Linked DNA regions of Homo sapiens: region 2 is linked to region 1. The links are contacts of gene promoters, found by promoter capture Hi-C in blood cells and fetal thymus (Javierre and others, 2016). All regions are on one chromosome and are shown on one strand. Each heading gives the region's core, a stretch centred on a gene start or on the middle of the fragment in contact. The rest is flanking DNA. Distances are from core to core; before and after follow the strand shown. Region 1 holds the start of NDST3 (N-deacetylase and N-sulfotransferase 3). Region 2 overlaps NDST4 (N-deacetylase and N-sulfotransferase 4).

What was found. Contacts are between HindIII fragments. The CHiCAGO score rates a contact against its expected background, and 5 or more counts as called.
Region 2: a contact is called between a fragment that was not itself captured here and the fragment with the promoter of NDST3 in region 1, in 1 of 17 cell types (endothelial precursors). The highest score is 5.4, in endothelial precursors.

The regions. Positions count from the first base shown.
Region 1 is chr4:118,030,737-118,038,333 of GRCh38, forward strand. It overlaps NDST3 (N-deacetylase and N-sulfotransferase 3), which reads left to right and starts at 3,750. Exons shown (of 14, transcript NM_004784.3): 1 at 3,750-3,856. The HindIII fragment of the contact is 5,573 bases long and covers 1-4,060 here.
Region 2 is chr4:115,085,069-115,092,665 of GRCh38, forward strand. The region is part of intron 1 of NDST4 (N-deacetylase and N-sulfotransferase 4); the gene reads right to left. Among named protein-coding and RNA genes, the nearest start is that of NDST4, 25 kb to the right of the region's middle. The HindIII fragment of the contact is 1,142 bases long and covers 2,488-3,629 here.

The sequences.
Region 1 (7,597 bases), core at 2,500-4,999:
GGACATGGTGGCATGTGCCTGTAATCCCAGCTACTTGGGAGGCTGAGACAGGAGAATCGCTTGAACCTGGGAGGCAGACATTGCAGTGAGCCAAGATCGTATCACTGCACTCCAGCCTGGGCAACAGAGTAAGACTCCATCTCAAAAAAAAAAAAAAAAAAGAATATATATATATATATATATATATACATATATGTATTGCACAAGTTCATTTGGAGATGACTCTATTTGAAGTGCTTCACAAATGTCTGGCCCTGAATCAGATGGCCTTCTCCACCTCTACTTGGGCACTGCCACAGTGTTAGACTAAATAGGAATACCTCTCTGGAGGAAAATTTTTCGCTGGCCTTAATGTCCCTGGGTTAGGAACAGAAGATTGGAAGGGAGGGCTACAGGGGGCAATGGTTGGCCCTGATGTCTGTCCCTTCTTACCTCTCTGCTGGGCACGCAGCCCAGGAGTGAAAGGAAATATAGGCAACATATCAATCTGCTATTACACTGGCTTAGACGACATATGTGTGCAGATGAGGACTTCTCTAATAGAGGTGTAAGATTTGAGGATCTCATAGGAAAAGACAGCATGATCCTAAGCTGTTTGTAATTCCAGATGGATGGTTGGAAGGAGCAGTAGCTGGTAAAGGTAACAACTCTCCCAAAAACAATGAGAAATTTGATTATGTCTCCTATCCATCTTAGCTGAAGAAAACCCCAAAATACAGTCATAAGAATAGTAAGTATCTTATTTTGTAGAAGAAGTTTTTCTGGTTTTGTGTTTTTGTGCAGAGGAGGTAGAAAAAGAAAAGAAAAAGTGAATATCATTTCTGAATCTGCCTACATTCCCTGAAACATTTAGGAATTTATGAATTCATGAATCTTGTCTATTCTCTGAAATCTTGTAGAAGAGCCTGACCTCCTACAGCTATATCAATATAAGCGACTGAAGGGCAGAGAGTGGTCCTGCTTTTCTTTTTTCAATATTATTGTATTCCCAGAGCCATTTAGTAGGTGTTCAATAATTTTTTTGATTACTAAAATGATGAATGCATGGCTGCTCGGAAGACAGAGCAGGCTCTCTCTTGGGTAAGGAGTACATAGAAAAATAAATGTGGGTTCTTAAAATTCTTAAAAGGCACAAGACTTCCAGGGAACACTCCAACTAAAAAATAAATAAAACCAATCTAATACATGTTACTTGGCCAAAGAATTCTAGCATCCTGACATTTTTGTGGGCTTCCAGAAGGAGCAATTGGTTCAGTCACATCTGTAACCCCTCCATCACATAGAACAAAAAGGATATATAACTTCCTGATTTTAAAACACAATTCCAACTAACCCTTTCAGGACATTGGGTTCTAATTGAAGGTCTTGAACTACGAATCCAAATACCCTGATAAAGTTAATAAACAACCAGAATATTTAATTACTGTATCATCGTTTGTGTCTCTTTCAGTTTCAAGGGACAGCAAATGCAGTCCAAGCTGCCTTAAGACAAAAGTGAATGTGGCCAGTCGCGGTGGCTCAAGTCTGTAATCCCAGCACTTTGGGATGCCGAGGTGGGCGGATCTCGAGGTCAGTAAATCGAGACCATCCTGGCTTACACGGTGAAACCCCGTCTCTACCAAAATACAAAAAATTATCCGGGCCTGGTGGCGGGCTCCTATAGTCCCAGCTACTCGGGAGGCTGAGGCAGGAGAATGGTGGGAACCCGGGAGACGTAGCTTGCAGTGAGCTGAGATCACGCCACTGCACTCCAGCCTGGGCGACAGAGCGCGACTCCGAATCAAAAAAAAAAGTGAATGTATTTGTTTATGAATGAAAATATCCAGAGATAGAACTTATTTCAGCTACAGCTCGATTCCAAGCTCGAAAATCTCCATCTGGGTTTCACTTTTCTCCAACTCTCAGTTCTGCCTTCCTGAGTATCAGCTTTATTTTCAGACTTCAAGCTCTAAGCTCACATCTTCATTATGCAAAGTCCAGTAGAAGAGAGTCCACTTTCTTAAGAGAGGAAGGAAAAAAAAAAGTCCCAGAATGGTGGTTTTTTTCTGTTTTTCTCTCTGATTGGCCAGACCTGGGTTACATACCTACCCATGCTACCAGGACAGAAAGCCATCACTGGCCAGACCTGAGCTGTGGGTCTACCAGTGAGTCAGCAGCGGCTGACATCACCTAAAGCAAATGGGCTGCGGGGTGAGATCAAGTGGTTGGATCTTCCAAAATGAACAGGAGTACTGTTTCAACAAGAGTGAGTGCTGGGAAGCAAAACCACAAATGGCCAATACAAAGTATCATTAGTAGACCCCACTTAATACAATTCACATGTTAGTGGAACCAAATGAAATTTTTAAAAATATATATCATTCGATTCACACTTCTAATCAAACTATAGTTCTGGAGAGGGTAACCTCACACCTTGAATCCAAAATATCTCTTCAGTTGCTGGCCTTCCACTTGTCTTCAGGAGCTGAAACACATGGCATTTGAAAAAAACTGGCGAACAGAGGAAACTCTTGCAGCCTCGCAGCCGCCCTGGTCCAGTGCCAACGGCAGGAGCACCACAGGAAGGGACCGCGCGGGTGCGCCCCACCCTTCCAGCGTCGCCTCGGGGACTCGCACCCCTTTCCCTGGCCGCACAAGACGTTTCATCCTTGGCGGCCGCCGCCAACCCGCCGGGAGGGGCGGTCGGAACTGGCAGGCCGGGGCGGAACCCCCGGGGTCTCCTTGTCGAGGCCCGGGCAGCCAGATCCTCAGGGCCGGTCCGGGCGGGAGCCCGGTCGATGGAGGCGGCTCCCGTCCTCAGCTCCCGCTCCCTCCCCTTCCCCGGGGCGGGCGCGCGCGGGCCGGGAGCTGGGAGGCGGCGGCTCCCGCCCGGGAGGCGGTGGCGAGGGCGGCGGAGGCGCGGCCGGGCGGGTCCCAGGGCCGTGGTTCTCCAGCGCAGGAGTCCCCGGCGCACCCGCTGCGCTCGCCCCGCAGCCGCAGCCTGAGCGGCCGAAGTCGCCACCAGCTGTGTCCGCGCAGATCCCGGGCGCGGAGGGGAGAGGTCGCCCGCTTGTCGCCCCCGCCGGACCCCGGGCACCGCGTAGCACCCAAGCGCCACCCGGACGAGGGGCCCTGGGGAGCGGCTGAGGCCGAAGACCCGAGGGAAGGAGGAGCCCGCGGACGGCTGCAGCCCCAGGTAATCTCCATGGAGGACGGGGCCGGTCTCCTCGCCCAGAAACCCGATCCGGGCGCCTTGGAATGCGGACTCCAGAGGCGGCATCTCGACCAGACAAGTTTCTCGCGGCTTGGAATGAGGGAGTCCTGAAACCGACACTCGTTTTATTTAACCAGCTTTTTTCTCCTGTTTTAAATAAGTTTATTTAGACAATGGAAAGAAAAAAACAAACAGCCTCTTGAGTGACTGTGGGTTTGTAAATATAATCCTAAAAGTTTTTCATGGTGTGGTTATTTGCTTGCTCATATTTATTAACCTGTTAACTCTTCCGCTAGTCAGAAAATTGACATGTAAAATATTCTTTGAGGAACGTTACAAGTTTGCTGTTGTATTCGGGCATCCTGTTATTCATCAGCTTAGTTAGCATCTGTCTTCCCCCGAAGTGGTACCAAAGCCGGTCCCTTGGCGACGGGTCTTGCATGTGACACTCTTGCCCTCTAGTGCCTCACCAGCTTGGTAGCAGTTTGATGGCTAATATTAATAAGATGTTACATAACATGAGAGTACTGGGCCAGGACTGGTGTTGCTACCACTTGTAAAGTCAAAAAGCCTGAGCCGATGGTAACGAGTGGTACTGTTTCCGTTTCTTTTCCATCTATTGCAACTTTCTCAAGCATTTTCAGCTCTGAACTTTAATTCCAGGTAAGTGTATTTATTTATTTATACTGTGCATTAATGCCTCACTCATAAATGTAGGGGCTTTTAAGAGATAACAACTTTGCTTTCAAATAATCTAAAAATTTCAAGATTGAACAAGTGCTTCATTTTATTCTTGAAGAAGAAATATAGAGTATTTTGATTAAATTAAGTGAAACAAAGGACCGTCTCATTCAGGGATGATTTTAAAGCTTCCCTTTCATAAGATTATGGTACTAAAGAAATGACCTCTTGTAATTGTTTAAGATATTCACCAACTTATAATGATTCTGAAGTAGATCTGTTTAACAGAACACATGTCTGTTGCCTTGACAGAATTTTGTAAGGAATATCAGAGACTTTAAACTACCTGCCTATCTACACAGTAATGATCCTCAAAAGGCTTTCTATTTGATGCAGTTTATAGACATTATTTAAAACTATACAATTAATAAAATTAAATGGAAATGGAAAGAATCAATCTAGGTATCAAATACAGAAACTTTAAATTTAAAGAAAACAGATATATCTTCTATTTAATATATCCATTTTGTGGGGGCAGGTAAAAGCAAAGTTACATCTTTAAGGGGTTTACTCAGATCCTTTTTCAAATAGTTTTTCTAATAGCTGGATACTGTTTAAGCATCAGAGTTATTTAATGTCGAAAATGTATTAGTATCTATATTCTTTATAAACATATTGAAATATAGCAACATGTAATCTGGAAGAGTTTAGAAGAAAACCCTTCTAGACAATGCAAACAGCTACATTCTTAATACATTTGTATTAAATTAAAATACAAATCAAATATTGAGATGTGTGCAACTGATCTGGGACACACACTTTTTTTTTGTTTTTTTTTTTTGCCCTTAGAAAATTTCATGTTATCAACTACTGAGCAATGCTGTTCACCACCAGAGAGCAGGATGATATGGCAGAGAAACTCTAGAATATCCGATATTCAGCTGAAGGGAATTTTTTTCCCTTTTTCTTCATCCATACCTTCCTATCAATATTATATTTAAGATGGAGATTTCAAATATAAGTTTGAAGGAGGCTCCTTTTTAAAATAGTACTGAACATATAAAGAGGCTTGCCTAAGATAAGCTCTTTTTTTTCTTTCTCTGGTTAACACAGTATCTACCATTTCTAATTTTGTTATCATTTTTCTTTATCATCTTGATGGTAAAACAGAAGATTTGTTTCTTTGTGTAAATAATGTTAATTTTGAGCTTGTCACATGAGTTAATTTTCTTCATAGTCTTTAAAATGAAGAATTCTTACATTACTAAAATGTTTTAGATAAAATAAAACTTTTATCTCTTTCTGGAGATATTTGTTATAGTTTAGTTTGGTGGAGTTATATATACCCTCTTTTTAAATTAATTTTCTTGAGAAAAGCATTATTTCTGAACATTGAGGCAAATATTAATTTTTGGTGTAACTGAAAAGTTTGTTAAAAAATATATAGTAGAAGAGATAATCAGGCATTGGAGATTCTTTTTCTAAACCATATATTCTGCTAAAGAAGTTATTATAAGCTAAAATGTAAATATGTAATTGTCTACCTGTCATTTCAAAATTTTAAAACTGTAAAGAAATTACAATTTTTTTTCTTTTAATCTTGGGACTCTGATTATATGACTTCCTTGAAACCTGATTGAGTTTCAGCTGCTTTTTGGTGATTAGAGCCTTAAAAGTGCATTTGTTAAGATGCAAAATATATTTTTTTAAACTATATGTAAATACTTTGTGATTTATATACACTATAAAATCAGGGAAATTGAATTAAGGATAAAAACACTATTCTCAACTAAATGAATGCCTTGAATTTCTAATTGCTTAACAGTTCTGACAGTAAGGGAAAACAGTAGAAGTTTACTTTCCCTGTGCTGTGTCTATTATAAATGAGCATTCACACTGAAATGCATGAACTCTGAACACCTGTCCAGATTAGGAATGCTGCCAGGCCACAAAAGTAACGACCTACATTATAAAGATAATTAGTCTGAACAATCCTCAAAACTATTTCATGACTGAAGTTTCTCGTAAAGGGGTGATTTTAATATTTCTTGGTTTGTCTGTTTGTTTATAGTAAAAAACTATACTCTTAGATACCTGGATATCACAGTGAGTGATTTATTCTTTCATGTTACTCTAAACATTTTCATCGATTTCATGTAAGTTACAGGACAAGAAAAAAAAAGTAGTCAGGACCTACTACAATTAATTAATGTCTATAAGAAATTATTTCCCCAAATCTTCTACAAATTACTGAGGGCTATAATTCTTGATTACCTGTTGCCAAATAAGAGCTTAAAAATCAATTATTGCAGTCCTATCCTAAAACCTTTAAGCATCTCAATTATGGGTATCCATTTTACATGTGTTTCATTGCTGAATTTTTTTTTTCATTAAAATATTTGAAAATAACATGAAAGTAGACCTAAATTCTAGGACTGGCTCTGCCAAGACAGGAGTGGCCTTGAACAGCTCCCTTGCTGGCTCTGGGGCTTGGTTTCTTCACCTGAAAAATGAGGATTCCAGAGACCCTTTTTTATCCTGTTTGTTCAACATTTTAGAAATTGATCTGGAGGCCAGGACGAAGATAGATGAGAAAACATCAGTGAATAATACAAAATTTAACTTGGTGATAAGTACTATTGTCTAGATTTCTGCTAAGTAGAGATGTTACAGTTTTTACTCATAGAATAGTTACCTTGTACCAGGCACTGTTCTACTTTACATATTAATTTTTAGCTCATATAATCTTCACAAAGATTATTTAAGGTAAATATTATTCCTGTTTCACAAATGAGGAAATTGAGGCACTGAGCGGTTACCTACCTGCCTAAGATCACATCCCTGGCAAGTGCTGAAGCTGGTATGCAGTTTGAGTCCGGCTCCAGCACACATTCCTTTAACCGTTATACTACATTGTCTCTCTATAGGTTTCAAATATTTGTTCTTGATATGCCTCTTGATGGAACAGAGGTAATCCATATACCACTCCAACAATTTCCATCACTTCCCTTACATATGAAATACTCATTCATTCACCCAGGAGGTATTTACTAAGCATCTACTTTTGCACCAGGCATAAAGGAGTCCACAGGACAATTAAATGTGGTGCCTTCCCTAGCTAAGTATATACAGTCTAGTTCAGGTGATTTCTTTCTCCTCTTTTGCTACTGCTGTTAGGTTGAGTCTCACTTGTTCTAAAATGTGCCCAAGGTAACAGAAGAATAATTTACCTGACGCCTTTATTGATGTGTCCATAGAATAGAGAGTAATAGAACCTTCAACCTCCTCAAGACTCCCTATATCATATTTTTTCATTATTCGTTTCTACTCTTTTTGCATCATCTTCTCTCTGCAGATTGGCTGTCTTTCCTTATCTGGTTCATGTAACCTGCCCTAAAACATAGCCAACACTGATCTGTAACTTTACATCTAATGGTCCAGGCAACCAATGAGAGGCCAGGTTAACACTCTCTTGTTCCCATGAGTCTAATGAAGGACAAAGAAAAGGTTTGGATTAGACCCTAAAAGCTGCATTGTCAGCACTCACATATGTCATATGTGAGCATGTGTGACAGAATATGTCAGCGTATTTTGATGCATGCATTCTGGTCCAATCTTAGAGGGTAAAGGCAGACATTTTCCCCCTTAAGTCATATAGGGCAGAATAAACAGCAAACAGCAGTGGGGTAGTTTTCTTCTCTTGCATCACTGGATGGCATAACA
Region 2 (7,597 bases), core at 1,809-4,308, 2.9 Mb before region 1:
CCATGGGAGCCCACCTCTTGCGTCAGCATGACCTGCATGTGAGACATGGAGTCAAAGGAGATAATTTTGGAACTTTAAGCTTAATGACTGCCCTATTGGATTTCAGAATTTCGTGGGGCCTGTAGCCTCTATGTTTTGGTCAAAGTCTCCCATTTGGAAGGGGTATATTTACCCAATGCCTGTACCCCCATTGTATCTAGGAAGTACTTAACTTACTTTTGATTATACAGGCTCATAAACAGAAGGGACTTGCCTTGTCTCATATGAGACTTTGGACTTGGACTTTTGGGTTAATGCTGGAATGAGTTAAGACTTTGGAGGACTGTTGGAAGGGTAAAATGTGAGGACATGAGATTTGGGAGGGGCAGGGCCATAATAATATGGTTTGGCTCTGTGTTCCCACCCAAATCTCATCTCGAATTGTAGTTCTCATAATTCCTACGTGTCATAGAAGGGACCTGGTGAAAGGTAATTGAATCATGAGGGTGGTTACCCCCATGCTGCTCTCATGATACTGAGTGAGTTCTCACAAAATCTGACTGTTTTATAAGGTGATTTTCCCCCTTTGCTCAGCACTCATTCTCTCTCCTGCCACCCTGTAATGAGATGCCTTCTACCATGATTTTAAGTTTCCTGAGGCCTCCCCAGCCATGTGGAACTGTGAGTCAATTAAACCTCTTTTCTTTATAAATTACCCAGTCTTGGGTATTTCTCCACAGAGTGTGAGAATGACTTAGTACCTCATCTTTCAAGAGAGATGCAGTATTTTTCAAATTACAGGTCACCAACAAGTAAGTGAAAATGAAGTAGACCAGAATAGAAATATTGTCATACTTCATGTACAGCAGAGGTAAGTAGTGCTTTATGAAACTTTATGTTATGGTGTCCGTATATGCATGTGTGTGTATTTGGATACCAATGTAAGATTATTGCTTATTCTGGGTCATGGTCAAAAGTGTTTGAGGAGCACTACTCAGTAGGGCACAATTAATTCAAATTATTTAATCTGGTTAAAAGAATTATAAATATCATAAAGGTTTTAGCTAAAGATCAATGCAGTCTCTTATGATTCTGAGTGGTTTTGGAAAATATCCAATATTGATTAAATAGTAGTTGAGACTATGAAATGGTTGATATCACATGGTTGGTCCCATGGAATTCCTTTCAGCTTCCAGGCCAAAAAATATTATGATATTATTTTCAGTAGCAACCACTGCTACATAAATCATAAATTTTTCAAAATAGAGGTACAAAGTAATGAGTAATTGTTATATTTAATCAAAATCGAGGTAGTATGCCCAGTTTATAATTTTCTGCAGAAATGATCTTTTCTATACCCATAAATAACCAGTTGATATCACCTAACTTCCATACACTTCATATATTCTTGATTTCAGTGACATAATATAAATTTATTTTAGTCCCCAAAGTGTGCATTTTTACCAGTACAAACTCCTAAAAGTGTCATTTCAAACATAATGATAACATTACTACCATAATATTATATTGTAACATAATATTATACTAGGTTCATAGCTCTGAGCTATCAGCTACATTCATACTTCAAAAGATTATGAAGTCAACTCAGTAAATAGAAGAGTAAATGTCAGGCGGTTTCTTTTATCACCATTTCCTGCAGAAATATGTATAGTGCCTATTCACCATTTTCTTAGTTCTTATTTTCTAAAGCAAAGAAAGGACATGATTTTTTAAAAATAAAGAGTCTAATTTATTAAAAGCAACTGCAAATTTCTATGCATTCATCTTGCTTATTAGAAAAACATGGGGATTTTGCAAATAAAGAAACTTTTATGTGGATATTTCTTCTGCTTTGCCATATAAGATTTAGATAGAGTAGTAGAAATGCTATCCGTGGCCAAGTTGAGAGGTCTGGTAATCACTGCTTGGAACTTTGTATTTATATTTATAGCTAAGATTTCATCACTGAATTTTACCCTTATACTACTAAAATAATAATCAAATGCCCAGAATGTGTGGACCAGAATTAAACAGGATTAAACAATTTTTGAATGCTTAGATCTGCCCCAGGGTTTCTGACATTCAGAAAGTTTCCTCAGGACCTTACTTAGGATGACTTTGGGATAAATCTGTGACTCTGTCTCATTTTGTATAGATTTGGAGGTAATATTTACAATGGGACATTTATAATCAAACTGAAACCAGACAGGCTATCTAAAATTCAGTTCAATCATGGATTTGCTCCTATTTTTCTCTTTTATGTAAGAAGCCAAGGCATTTATCTGACATCCATTCAGCAAATATATGTATTAACATTTATCAAGAGCCTATTTGCCAGGTACATCTGCAAATTCAAGTATTTCTCTTATTACCAGCAAAAACATCTAAATTATTTTGTTTTAATCTGTTCTCTGTTTCTTCCCTTTCCTATTTCCCCTTCTTCTCTAGAATTTTTTTCTTTTCTTATATTTTTCCTTGACAGTGGATGGTTTTAAAGTTACTGACTTAAGCTTATGCTAATGGAGTTCATGTGAAAAGTGTTGGCATTAATCTGCTAATCTATGTAACAATGTTGCGATTTCCTATCTTGATTTTTTTTCACTCCATATAAACAATTTATATGGAAGCTACAAAGGATGACTGAGGAAATATAATATCATATATAATATCATGATATGCTTTCCTGTTTAGATGTAATATTATTAGCCATTTTCATTCAAAAGTAAACTTTTTTTCTGTAACTTATCAGCAAGGATGATGTGAAAATGTTTTAGAAACTCAACTGCTTTTTTTCTTAACAAAATTTATGTATATTTTATACTTGAAAGTATTATAAATTTTGAAAACCCATAATATTAAAAATAAAATGAACATTAACAAATTCTTATTTCTTTCTATATTTTTCTGTATAATGTGTTTTTACAGTTTAAAATATAATTTTTATCTTATTTTTACACTTAGATTATGATAGTTATAATAAAAGGGGAAATGTGATTGAGACATCTTTGAAATATACATCATTATTTTATTTCTATTTCCCCAACTTATACTATTTTGATGATTTCAATAACTTTCTAAGCCACATGGTCCCTCTCCCTAGCTCCACAATCTTCTACTTTACAAAAAAAACAGAAAGTGAAGGTTGAACTGGCTCAAAATTATGCAGGGAGCCAAGCTGACTCCCTCCCACTAATGTTTCCCAAACTGAAAAATTCTCACTGTCCTTATCTGCCTCCTGATTCCATAGATAATGTATATCTCTTCTAAAGTTAATTTTTTTTTTTTTGCCTCCACCTATTTTCTAGAACTTCAGCCTCTCTCTTCTAGGGACTTTAAAAAACTGGTATAATGCTTTGTTAGTAATTGACCATAAACAGCATCTAAATGTTTCATCTGTAGACCATAAACACCTTCTAAATGTTTCATTTGTAATTATAATCTTCAGGTATCTGAATGGCTTCAGTCCCTACCACTTCCTCACCTTTCCTAGTTTCTGGGTTCTGTGTTTATTTTAGTTGGAGACTCCAGGTATCATTTTGTTAAGAAGTTTAGCTCATGCCCATGTTCATAACATTTTCTGTCACTCTCACCCCCACTCCCGCCCCCAATCCAAGCAACTGCCCTAATTTTTCTCTTTAGCTTCAGAGTCAAGCTTTTTGAGAGTTTACTCTTATAAATTGTTTCATCTTGTTATTCCTGCACTTTATGTGTTGAACCATTTACAGTTCTGGAATGACCCAGGTTATCTCTTTTATCTTTAAGTCTAATCAGTTCTTATTCATTTTTAGAAAGATTCAGCTTGGATAAAACTACCTCAAAAAAGTCACCCCTGGCATTACAGAAGTTAGTTTAGTGAGTGTGTCTGTCTCCACAATGCTGTCATAGTACAGCCTATAACACAGACATTTTAAATGAGTAATTATTCATGGATTTCCACCAAGGCAGGAACTGTGATTTATTTAGAATTGAATCTTCTGCATTTTGTAAACTTCCTGCTATTTAATGCACAAAACAATTATGCCAAAACAACAATAACCATATTTATGTCTTGAATATATTCACCTTCTTTCTCTACCCCAAGGTACAACTCAAATGATCTTTTCTCCAGACACTTGTTGGGAAAGGTGGTGGATGGAAGGAGTCTGAACTTCAGTTTCTTCATTTTCTAAATGAAGGATATAAAATGGTTTATATTTCTATTTCCATGTATACACTCATCAGGGAAGATTTGGAAGGATGCTCAACAAAATATTGATCGTCTCTGTTTTGTATTTTCTATATTATTTCATTTTTTTCAAGAATCATATACTAGCTGTATAAAAGCACAAAAATGTAGGATCTTTTAAATGGGTGAGTTTCATAACTGTAAGTTTGCTTCAAACTATAAAATTCTATAATCTTATGAATAACAAGCCTTTCCTATTCATGCCTGTCTCTGGTAGTCTTTCTTCCTCTAAATCTCTGAAGAATATATTGTCCTTATCTTTTTTATAATACCTTTGCATTTTTACATAACTGGTTTATGTGTCTTCCCCAGAAGACTGTGGGTACATTTTCAATAGCCTAATCTATATAAAAAGCTTCTCTTTTCACAATAAGCTACTTAGTTTATTTTCCTTCAAGCATAACCCAATACTAAATTAGACACACAGTAGATTAGTAACAATCTTGAGTAAGTCAGTTAAATTGACGTTCAATGTTATAATGTTTTAATAGTTTTTTATTGGAACAATGATCTCAGAATCAAGCCTAAAGTTTTGAAAATTGGAAAACCAATTGCACCAAATTATCTCTAAGTTTACTGATTATCAACCAGACCCCATTTGTAGTCACAGGATATGTAGGTCTGGAGAAATCTGGATTATATTAATATTGGTATATGTCCCCACAGAATTTATCTATTTATTTATATTAATTTTATTTTTATATTTTGGTAAGCACACAAAATTTGATCTACCATCTTCACCAACTTTAAGTGTAACATGCAGTATTATTGCAGTATTATTTAAAAGTCTCAGCTGATTATTTTTAAATACAATGATAAATATATCATTTCTACCTCAATCATTAATTTTTTATGTTATTTTTAGAAGACTTTTTCTAATGAATTTTTTACTACTCAATCCTTTCTCTTGTATTTCAGAGAAGGAAATATATATTTTTACTAGGCACAAAACACAGCTATAAAGGACCTATAAAGTACCTCTACCAATAGAATAACCTATTCTACAGAGTTATGTTCTTGACTTTAAAACATTTTTAAAAAATGATATTTACACCTAATTTTTATTTTTTAAAAATCCAAAATAATGATAGAAGATAATTTATTATAAGGAATGAATATTTCCTAAAGTTGTAAAATACTCAGCCAAAACTAAAGTGAAAAAGGATCTAATTAAATTACAGAAAGATAACATAATAAAATGAAATAATTTATTCTCAATCCAGTCACCTTTTTTTATAACAGGCCATAAAACAGATTTGTTAATTATATTTGATATTTTTTTCTAGAATTAGGAAATAATAACCTGTCTATCGGTATATCACGTTTATGTGAAAGGAGAAAATAAAAAATTTGATTTTTTTAATGGGTATTTCTGAACACTCTTTTGGTCTCCTAACTTTTTCAACACTAGAGGGCAATATACTCTTGCTTTTATTGCAAAAATAGGCCAACAGCACCTGTTCTCCATTGACAGGTTACTAAACTAAAGAAAGTGTTAACTAGATAAGTCCAGGGAGTATAGGTAACTGGGCTCTCAGGATGAGCATCGTGCTGTTGACATCAGCGAAAGATCAGTGACTCAATGTTAAAATACTAATTTTGCCACAATTACACACCAAATACATTTTAATCAATTCTCTTCTTCACATTGTAATGAACAGCCATTTTTATATTGCTTGTATGGTTCCCTGCTTCTGAAGTTTTATTTCTGTTTTTCAATATACATCTTTTTGTTACTGTTGTGCACAAAAGAAGAAAAAATAAAACATCACCTCTGTTTAATATTCTGCTAATTTTTGTGAACTTTTAAGGTCTAAATCTTTTTCTGAAAGGAAGAGAGGTACAATATCTACAATTCATATATATCTAAAACAAATTTTGATACATCTTGGTTTCAAATTAACATTTGTCCAGTATCATATTTATTTTATTTTAAGTATATACAATAATATGCATTTGTTTTGGCAAAATAAATTTGCTTTTTCATTTTATATTTCTCTGTTATGCAAACGTGTGTGTAATAATTTCATTTACAAGAAATGACAAAATTTCTAAATATTTGAATCTGCTCAAAGGATTAATCATTTATTTTTTAAGAATCCAAAATCAACATAAAATGAACAATATGAACAACTTATATACAAAAGACAAATGTGTACACCATGGTTTAGATTATTTCTCCATCTACTCTTCTTCTCAATTGTGAGGTAGAAAGAAAAAACACAAGAGCTATATTTGAAATAACTTAAAATTGTGGCTACAATTTCCACTTAGAATGGCATTATAATTTATTTGTAAATTAGGCTTTCTGGATACCAACTTCTATTGTTCATAGTTATATTTTAAAGTTGTCACATTATGTGGTTCCATTATAATTTATCATTTACATGAGAATTTGTGAAAATACATGTTCATATGCAGTTGTTTTGTAGCTAATTTGAAAGATAACGTATCATTAGGAGGTTGTGCTTGCAATGAAGTATACTCAGATTAATCATTCTGAGTAAAATGCACATATATATAATAGATTTTATTTTTATTCATGTTTTGAAATCCTTTCCAAAGTTGCTTTCCCTAAATAAGTGATTAAAATTTGTTAAAGTATTTTTTGGTACTAACAAACCTTTGGTAACTATCACTGAATTTGTCATAAATGAGTACTAAATAACACTATAATATAAGATGCAAACTATATAACTGGAATGCAAACATCGAGATGATTACATGTAATTCAAAAAATAGTCCTTAATTAGGTTTAGTAACATTACTCTACTGAAGTTATGGTTAAGGGCATGTAAACACACACACAAATATCAGAAAAGTCCAGTTTGAAAAGTAGCCATAGAGCAAATATTGCACGACCAGCCTGGGCAATACTGGGATCTGGGAGTTCTTCAAGTGCCACTGCTATTGGTGCCCTTAAACTATGGATGTAGGTGAAGACCCCCAACCTAAAAGGAATTTTTTTTCTGCACCCACTTATTCCCTCATTCACTAGCTTCTGATTCAAAGTCAGCCAGAGGTATTTCAGAATAGCTGCTTTCAGTAGGCATGCCCATGACTTGGCTGTGAGGGAGGCTGGAAAACAATTATTTGATATCTGTAAATGAGGGGGAAACTCATATAATCACGAATTTCTCAAACGTAAGAAGCATGTTCAAGTTGCTGGATATAAGTGAAGTTAAAAAATGATAAAATGTCAGTTAGTCTAAATGAACGTGAGTATAGAATACGGTAATAATAAAATCCTGAGGGATTAAAATCAAAACCAAATAATTGAAATAAATAAGAACAATAGTATAAAAGTACTAAGGGAATAAATGGAGTAAAATGTTCTAGAAATGCTGTATTTTCTGCAAAGGTCATAGTATCAGTTAACTTTGCATATTGGTA